3 separate regions of the Homo sapiens genome follow, and all the other regions are linked to region 1. The links are contacts of gene promoters, found by promoter capture Hi-C in human tissues and cell types (Jung and others, 2019). All regions are on one chromosome and are shown on one strand. The core of a region is centred on a gene start or on the middle of the fragment in contact, and the rest is flanking DNA. Distances in the headings are between cores, read along the strand shown. Region 1 holds the start of SCPEP1 (serine carboxypeptidase 1). Region 2 overlaps MSI2 (musashi RNA binding protein 2). Region 3 overlaps MSI2 (musashi RNA binding protein 2).

Region 1 (3,122 bases), core at 416-2,915:
CAACAAAATTTCTGTAAATCAAAAATAAAAAGGCAAACAGCAAGGAAAGAGCTACAACAAATATGAAAAAGGGCAATTTTCCTAACTCATGTAGATGATTTTTTTAAACTGAACGATATATATCTGTGTATGTGTGTTTAATATACGTATCCTATAATCCCCTAACTCCAATTTTCCTTACTTAACTTTTCTAGCATCCACAAAATATGTTTTAGAAAAGAGTAGGCTAAATACATTTTCTTTGTCACTTTTTGCTAACGTAACAATTTCCAAGTTATAGCATCTTTTTTTTTTTCCTCCAAAACCACTCTGGGAAAAAAAAAAGTAGAGGGGCTGTTGTTAAAAGATGATGGGGGGGATCCCCTCGGTGACTGGAGTTTTCTGCCTTCTATTTCCTCCCTTCTCAAATTTCAAGCCCCATTGGTCAGTAAAAGAACACTGGTCCCAACAGCTAAAGAGACAGGAGTAGAGAGGAAGACAATGAGACAACGTCTTGTAAATAAGAAAGAGCCAGGGTGGTGGCCTGTGTCTGCAGTCCGGGCTACTTGGGATGCTGAAGTAGGAAGATCACTTGAGTCAGGCAGTTCCAGACCAGCCTGGGCAACATAGTGAGACCCTGACTCAAAACAAAACAACAATGAAGATTAAGAAAACCAGAAAGTGTCCTGAGGAGCAAAACAGATGACTAAAACATTACAGACTTAGCTATAAGGTTCTATATACAAGTAACACACGATTATATTGTCCTTGACAATAACAGATAAGGCTGCGCTCCCTTGAGAATGACAGATAAGGCGCAGGTACCTTTTGACCTAACCCCAGGCACTTCTCCCTTGCCTGGCAGTGACTACTGGTAAAATTGGCAGAGCTACTTATTTTACAAAATCTCCCAGACACTCGCCTAAGGGCCAGATGATCCCCATTTTAGAAAAGGAAAACAAAACTGTTCAACAACTTGCCTAAGGTCACAAGGCAAGCTTGTGGCCAGTTCCAATTCTCAGTGCTTGCTTCAGACTAGGAGAGGTTTTGCTGAAAATCAATTTGCAAGTCATCCTATTAAACACAAATCTGTTTTTTGCCAAAAAAGATCGCTGTGGGGGAAGATGTTATCTTGTTTGTTTTGATCAAGAAAAGAAAGGGCCTTATCTCAATGAAATGTCCCATTCGTGGTAGGATGTAAGGGTACTTTTGACCGCAGATTTCAGCTTAAAATAAAACGACCTTATATCCTCATTTAGCAGCCAATCATGGCCTTTGAATCGGGGAAACCTCATTGACCAGCAGTTTCCCCAAATCATACATTTCTGCACACAGCTTCTATCTAGGCGTAGGAGAGAACGGAAGCACTCAGACCACCCAGAGCCAGAAAAGGACAAAAAAAGCACTTTGAATTTTTTAAGGAAAAAAAAAAAAAAGAGTGAGATTCAAAAGCAATATAATTACACAAGGTAAGAACCGGGGAAAAGAGACATGTTTTCAAAAGCACAAACCCAGTAACAAACTCTCACGCCTGGAGAAAAAAGAGGCATGGCAGCTGGTGCGCCTCTTGCTTGAACCTACCTGCGTTCAGGCCCAGCAGCAGCGGCAGCAGCAGCAACCACCGCGGGACGGGAGAGCGCCGCAGTGCCAGCTCCATGACAAGTACCGCACGGCAGCATCAGCAACAGGCTGGACCCGGCGCCCCATCACGTGACGGAGGCGGACGGGGCGGGTCGGGGGCGGGGCCTGCGGGTCGGGGGCGGGGCCTGAATGGGCATGGGGCGGGGCCTGGGCGGACCCGGCAGCTTGCTGAGACCCGCACGCCCTCTGCCCGGCAAGCCCACCAGGACCCCTGCAAATGCGCAGGGGCCGTTCTGTCCGCCTGGCCAGGTTCTCTGTCATTTTAGGGAGAGTATTTCGGAAAGGAGACATTTGATGCAGATGTTGGATTTAGGTTGTGTGACCGGATCGAAATACTAAAGGGAATAACCACCGCCCTTTCTACCCCTCCCATCTCTTCCTTCCCTCAGCAAAAGAACCGACGTTTTCCAACACTGCTACATCTGCGAAGTCAGATTAAGCCAGCTGGTCGTTGGCAAACAGCGGGGTTTCATTTTCAGATATGTATTTTTTAAATTATTTTTCTTTTAAAGTTATGTATGTTATAAACGTTTTGGAAATATGAACAAAAAAGTTATACATAACTATTGTTGGCATTTTTTCCCATAGTCTTTTACGTCATTTTAAAAAACACTAATAAAGATTTTTATTTTTTTTTTCTTTTTTGATAATTTGTCATTAGTATTACTCTGTGTTACGTTATCTTCACAGCAGTCATTTTAAAGAGAGAATCGAGGGTCTGGGGACGGGAAAGGAAGAAAAAGTGGATGACAGAGCTGTTTTCCTCTGTGTGTGTGTGTGTGTGTGTGTGTGTGTCTGTCTGTCTGTCTGAAGGTCATTTTTACGTTAGAGGGTACTGAATAACTCACCTCACAGCTAGGAGACAAGCTACAGCAGGGGCTGTAGGAGAGGCTACTTCTAAATACTGCTTCAAAAGTACATGTAACAAAAAGCAAAAAACAAATCAAAGTACATGTGGCCACTTCTCCTCTTTCCCTGCTCCTTTCTCCCTCCCCTCGCCCTTGACCCCCATAAATGGAAGTGCTTTTTACTCTGCAGCCATTGTCTGGACAGAGCCTTGACCCCGCCCTGCCTGTGAGGTGCCCCTGCACTGAAAGCTGCGGCAGAGAAAAATATGCCGCCGGGTTCTGTCATGCTTTAAGCATGGGATGGTCCCGAATGCATAAAATCCATAATGCCTGGGCAACATATTGAGACCCCCTCTCTACAAAAAATAACAAAAATTAACTGATGTGGTGACACGCGCCTGCTGTCCAAGCTACTCAGAAGGCTGAGGTGGGAGGATCACTTGAGCCCAGGAGCTCCAGGCTGCAGTGAGCAGGTGTTCCATGCCATATGGGAGATACATAAAAGTACATGCTTAGTTAAAAATAAATAACTATCTAGCAAACTTTTCCTGTCTGAAGCTTCCAAGTTGGTCTGTATCACTAGGGCTTGAAATACACTTACCCTTCCACTGCAGTCAGAATTTTAGGGTTTCAATTTTTTTGCCACAAAAATAA
Region 2 (2,960 bases), core at 453-2,952, 630 kb before region 1:
ACCTGCAAGGGCATTTCAAAGTGGAAAGAAACCTCAGCCTCCAGCAGGTGCTCAGGTTCCGCCACAAGGCTGGAGGAGTGCTTACCCCAGGGCACGGTGGGCTGGGCCAGAGGCCCTGCGTGGGGCCTAACTTCATTTATTTAAAAGAGGGAGAAAATAAAAGGTATGGCTTGAGCCTTCTTTTCTAGGCAGAGGCAGCTGAAAGAAGAGGGCAAAGGAAGAACCAGGGACAGAACTCCCAGGCCCTGGGGAAACTAGAGTGAAACTAGAAGAGAAATTGGCAAGAGTCCAGGCAAGAGCCACGCTACTCTGGGCTTGGTCTCTGCAGCTGCATACGGGCGCAGACTGTTCATGCCCTGCCTTCTGCGCGGGGAAGAGGCAGAAGAGAAGGGGGGGCAGCCCCTCCTAGTGGTCTCCATGCTCCCCTCTCATGACCCTGCGCCCTGGGGGTGGAGTACGGGGACGCTGGTGGCAGCACGTTCAGAAAAGCCCAGAGGCACTGGGTGCTGAGATACTGAGGAGACAGACCACTGCCCTCCCTGGCCCTGCCTACACTGACATCGCCAGAGGACAGATGAAGGGCAAGCGAACCACTCAGGCAACTGGGAGGCCACTCCCTGCAGGCCAAATTACTTCTGCCTAAAGAGCAACAAACATTTACCACCGAACCACCCGGCCTCCCCCAACACACTAATCACTCTGCTCTCATTAACACAGCCTGTACACAAACAGCATGTGCACGCGCTTGCGTGTGTGATGCGTGGGGGGCAGGATCTCTCCCTCTCCCACGTAAACACCAGATTCATTTATTAAATGCCTCTCTGGCATTTCCTTTTTTGCCTTCATCCTGCTTGTTTAATATTGCATTTGACATTCTCATTTTATAAATGGCAACAGAAGCAGAATGGATGGCTAAAATTAGCTTACGAGTGAGAATGATGCTACAAATAGGATTGTGAATACAGAAGCCTAGTTAATTCCACCCACATTACCCGCCCCCCTCCCCACACACAAATACACCCACCACTTTTGGGCTGGTTCCCGACTGAGTTGTCTTCAGGGCTGAGGAGGAGCAGCTGGAAGGAGTGGGGGGGTGAGCCAATCACTGGGCACCTTGCCAGGTGGCAGGGCCCAGAAGCCGACCCTAGCCTGCGGCTGGCCTCCATGGATGGGCTGGTCACAGCACCGCAGCCCTGAGTCCAAGAGGACAGCTCAGGACCCTCCTCCCTTCTTATCCTTCTGCCCTTCCTTCCCCAGAATCCCCTGTTCCGAGTCAATCCCCCAGGTATGCCCTGGGCTGAAGGGTAGCAGGCCTAAGATCTCAGTAGGCTTTGCTCTTAGAAGTGGATTTTTCTGGAACCTTCTTAAAGAATGAGTCAGGTGAAGAGTGGGACTCAGCTTTTCCAGGACCTAGACAATCACATCTCTTGGTTCCTCCTGCTTTGGGAGGTGCACCACCTCCTTTCCTAGGACCATCCCCAGAGGCACTGAGAGTGCCCACCTCATACTCTCCATCCCTGCCCCGCAGGCTCGGGACCCAGTCCTGCCCAGGTCCCGCACCACTTGCATTTTACTGACTTATAATCTGCTGAGGACCTCCTTACCTGCTAACTCTTTATTTGCTCAGTAAAATAATTCTAAGAATGATGACAATGACGACAGTGGTGAAAAAATCTATCACTCTGATAGAGAGCGTGCCATGGCCTGGCTCTGTTCCAAACCCCTTACAAGTCTTAAGTCACAGCACTCTCCGAGGTAGGCACTACCACAACCTGTTTTATAGAAAGGGGAACCACAGAGCCGAAACACAGAAGTAACTTGCCCAAGGCCACAAAGCTGGGAAGTGGAAGGGGGTTCAGCACTGAGGACTTGAGGCACCCTCTACCAGGAAGGCCGCCCTGGTTGACAGCACCCTGTTCTGACCATTGTGTCACTCCCCACCTGGGGGCTCCCCCAAAGAATGAAGGCACTGATACTTTCCACAGGCTGCTATCCCCAAACTCGTGTGCCTGTTTGGGGCACCCCCTTTCTACTCTGCCCCTAATAATGTGTGCTCAATAGTGAAACTGGCTGACCATTTGGCTAAATGCCTTTCATTGGACCCCTGTAGACAAGGAGCACCCTGACTGGGCCTGCTCTGAGCTAGATTAGTTTAGTCCAGGAGTCAACAAACTGTGGCCAGCAGGCCAAACCCAGCTGCCATGAGTTTTTGCAAATAAGCTTTATTTGAACACAGCCACGCCCCTTCATTTATATATTGCCTGGACTGTGTTTGTGCTACAATGGCAGGGCTGAGTAGATGTGACAGAGACTCTCTGGCCCGTTACAGAAAATTTGCTGGCCCCTGGCTTAGGCCCAGTGGGGGAAACGTGAAGTTATCAAGGGCTGATTCCTTCAAGGCTACCCAATTACATACCCTACAACAGAACAGGCCGAGACCTCCAGGTATCAAAGCAGAGCTTTATATAAGCTGCAAAAGGCAGCCATCCTCAACCTTCTGATTTCCCACAGGAGCAAACTGGTGCAGACAGGTAGGGCACTCGCCTGTGGTTACAGAATCACCAGCGGTGGACCTGGGATTCAGGCTCAGGTTCCAAGGCTCTCTTGGTGCCTCTAAGTGACCCAGCAGGTCCCGACTTGGGGACAAGGACACGTGCACCTCACTCAGGAGAATCGAGCCCTTTACCCCAAGAGATGCATGCCTCACGTGTCTTCTGCAAGCAATGCTCCAAGGCCTGCACCCAGAGGGGTAGGGCATGGTGAGGGGCGGGAGCAGTCTCTGGCACTGAGAGCTTCCTCTGGGAGATCTTCGGAAATCTGGTCTCTGTTTGACCATAGAGGGAGTATGGAGTGGTGCCAAGAGCACCAGACTGGCCTGGAGGTCCAGGTGCCAGGCCTGGTTTGGCCCCATTTGGCCTGGCTCCGTGCTCCCTTCATTCCCAAGTCCCTTCCTTCTGATG
Region 3 (3,262 bases), core at 143-2,642, 650 kb before region 1:
GTGACAGCAACCCGACTTAAGATAGGAGTCTTCCTTTTTCTCTTGGAGCTTAGTCTTGTCACCTGTAGAAAGCCTTGTGGGTCCCTTGCAACAGTGACGTGCCCAAATTCTTGAGTGAGACCAGCTGTGGCTCCTTTCCCTTGCTTCCCCCAGAACCTTCCCAAATTTGCAGTCACAGCTCACTCACTGAATGGAACTGTCTCTACCTCCACAGGGTCTTGCCACCTGCTCCTTCCTGTGCACTTATTTCCCGGTGCTTGGTGACTCATTGACAGAAGCCTGCCCAAGCGAGGCAGAAGGACCCAGCAGCTCTGCACTGACTGCTAGCTAAGGAGCAGGAGCCCGGTGGGATGTTGAGCTCAGCAACCCGACGGAGAAAGAAGGAAGGAAGAACAGCAAAGGCCAGGGCTCAGATGCCTTAAATGGACACATGCATACTGGCGCCTTCCTTCGTATTTATTTCGTGGCTAGGCAGCTCAGTTCTCCTCCAAATTAATCACCTGCTAGCAAATCAGATCTTGTACTAGATTTCTTATACCATGATTTCAACAATATTGATAAATGGATTATATGCAAACAGCCAAGTCATGGCTGCCTAGGGGCTTTCCAGATGAAAAATGGCTCCTTTGCTTCTAACTTCAGAGCTGGGGGTCTTAAATATTTTAGTGTTAATCTGACAGCAAAAGCATAAGCCTATGTGTCACCTTCCCTCAGGGAGGGTGGGAAGTGGCAGAGCAGCCAGTTTCTCCCTGCACTTAGGTGACAAATACAATGCAATTATACCTGCTTTCTTCCTGGCTTTCCTACAAGGCTTCAACGAGAAAGAAGAAAAGCATGGTCAAGTTCACCCCAACTTTGGGTCTCACCCCACTCTTCCTGGACACATCAATACTATAGTCTCCCAAACCACAAAGATGAGAATTCGGCATCTGCCAGAGCGGGGGATCTTATCTCCACCCCCAATCGCCGAACATCCTCTAGGTCAGGCAGATGAAATCATAAATTTATAATACAACATTACTTCAATTTTCCTCTTCATTTACTGCTGTGCAGCCCAGCTCTGCTCGAATGGTTCACAGCCCCAGCCACACGGGGGAAATTGGCTGGCTGCATATCAATAGCACATTACAGCAGACCCGTGCAGACGCTCCGTCAAGCCACATTACGGTGGGATGACCCAGCCACCACTTCCATTAGCAGCCTGGCCCCTCCCACACTGGCCACTGCACAATTTATCTGCTCCAATACTCTGGACGCCTGATCAATCCCACAGTAATTATCTCTTGTCACTAAAGTAAAAAAAAATCAAGGCTTCTGCCAGGGTGACCACCTCTCTTGCAGATCGGCTTTCCATTGCAGAAGCAAAAATACAGAAATCAACAATAGAATTTGGATTTGCCACTGAGCTCATTTTGAGTCCCCATTTTGGGGATGCTGACAAAGTTGTCAAAACTGTGGTTCTGGTTCTAGATCTTTGCTGCAACCCTAGAGATGTTTCCCTTCTAGACGGGTCCATGACTCATCTTCTCCCGGGCTCTGTTACTCAGCTACTCAGAGTCATGGAAAACGGCTCCCACCAGGCCCCAGACTTGAAAGAGACAAGAGACAGGGCTGTTTATCCAGGGAACTGCCAGAGTGTGACATATCTGCTGCGTGATGTTTAGAGCACTGCCTGGGGCACCTCATCGGCTCCATGAGGTCTGCAAACAGACTAAACACCAAGTGCCAAGAGTCCTTCCTAGGCAAGGACGCGAAGGCTAAAGTCTACAAAGATGCTTTGCCCCCAGAATCACCCTGAGTTGCAGGGGCTCCTCCAGACCTGCGCCGTCCAATTTAAATTTAATTCAAATTATCTAAAATGAAAGCTCCAGTTCCTCATTCGCAAAAGCCACAACTCAAGGGCTCAGCAGCTACCGTGCACAGGCGGCTAGTGATATTGGCTAGTGCAGACAGGACCTTCCCTCCCTTGCAGGAAGTTCTATTGGACTGCACTGCTCTACAGGGACAATGAAGAGCTGAATTCTGAGTTTCCTCTGTCCACCAGGAAGCGGCTAAACAAAGGAACACTTCCTTGAGAATAACCTAAACAGATATTTTTGGGAAAGCCAGATCCCCGTCGAAATTGAGTGTAGATATGTGGTTTTAAGTTCCAGCCAATCTCCAATCTTTTGATCTGTTAGTGAACGCCAGCAGATTACAGCTTCCTAGTGCCTGTTCTTAACGATACTTTTTTTTTTTGCTCACATTTCAGGGGGCTTAATGTCAGGGAACACTGAGTCAGGACTTCACGCGGGGCTTCTCAGTACGACTGCACCTAAGAATGCTTTTGGCTAACGTGCTTTAGCTGATCATCAGCCTCTCTTCGTTTCTGGGCCTGCTAGGGTGAAGCTTTTCTTTGAGGGCTCAGCAATGTGCTATTTCTCTAACACTCGTATCAGCATGTTAAATAAACAGCATGTGCCCAACGAGGCCAAGAAAGTTAAAGGCAGTGGGATTATGTGGCAGAGAAGGCTCAGAGAAATAAAATATATCAACAATCATCATGTGTTTGCTTTTATTAAGTTCACCTTCATTAAGAAAAATGAAAGAGATTCTATCACATTGAGCTGGATAACTGTGGGCACCTCTTGGTGCGGTGCCGCAAAGTCTGAGGGGCTGCACGAGACCATTTCTGTTTTTTTGTTTGTTTGTTTTTGAGATGGAATCTTGCACTGTCACCCAGGCTGGAGTGCAGTGGTGTGATCTTGGCTCACTGCAACCTCAGCCTCCCGGGTTCAAGATTCTTCTGCCTCAGCCTCCCGAGTAGCTAGGACTACAGGCATGCGCCACCATGTCCTGTTAATTTTTGTATTTTTAGTAGAGATGGAGTTTTCACTATGTTGGCCAGGCTAGTCTCTAACTCCTGACCTCAGGTGATCTGCCCGCCTCGGCCTCCTGGGAGTAGAGGCATGAGCCACTGCACTGACCTGCAAAAGACCTTTCCTAAGAGTCTTAGGTGACTCTGGTTTTGTCCGGCTCAAAGGTGGGAGACCTGGCCTAAGGATAACCCCTCCTCTTCTCTTCTACATTCCTTTTAAGGAATTCCCATTGGGTTGATTATTCTGTGATTCTGTCAAACGCTGTAAAAGCTAAAACCAAAACAGGTGTAGGTTTTCCCCAAGGATGTCTGCAGCCATATCAACAGAGATCAAGATAGAATAACTGTGCAACTATATGCTTATCAGCCTCCCTCTGAAGAGACCACCCAGAGTATGGAGAAAAT

The links. Contacts are between HindIII fragments. The study calls those that stand out against the background at their distance.
Region 2: a fragment that was not itself captured here is called in contact with the fragment with the promoter of SCPEP1 in region 1 in 1 of the 25 tissues and cell types used here (heart right ventricle).
Region 3: a fragment that was not itself captured here is called in contact with the fragment with the promoter of SCPEP1 in region 1 in 1 of the 25 tissues and cell types used here (hippocampus).

The regions. Positions count from the first base shown.
Region 1 is chr17:56,976,674-56,979,795 of GRCh38, reverse strand. SCPEP1 (serine carboxypeptidase 1) reads right to left here and starts at 1,665. Exons shown (of 13, transcript NM_021626.3): 1 at 1,561-1,665. The coding sequence starts at 1,636. RefSeq lists a silencer at 1,723-1,782. The HindIII fragment of the contact is 4,443 bases long and covers 1-3,122 here.
Region 2 is chr17:57,603,009-57,605,968 of GRCh38, reverse strand. The region is part of intron 8 of MSI2 (musashi RNA binding protein 2); the gene reads right to left. The region is part of intron 2 of MSI2-AS1 (MSI2 antisense RNA 1); the gene reads left to right. Among named protein-coding and RNA genes, the nearest start is that of MSI2-AS1, 3.9 kb to the left of the region's middle. RefSeq lists enhancers at 1-755, 2,410-2,909. The HindIII fragment of the contact is 4,868 bases long and covers 1-2,960 here.
Region 3 is chr17:57,621,630-57,624,891 of GRCh38, reverse strand. The region is part of intron 9 of MSI2 (musashi RNA binding protein 2); the gene reads right to left. Among named protein-coding and RNA genes, the nearest start is that of MSI2-AS1, 15 kb to the right of the region's middle. The HindIII fragment of the contact is 6,327 bases long and covers 1-3,262 here.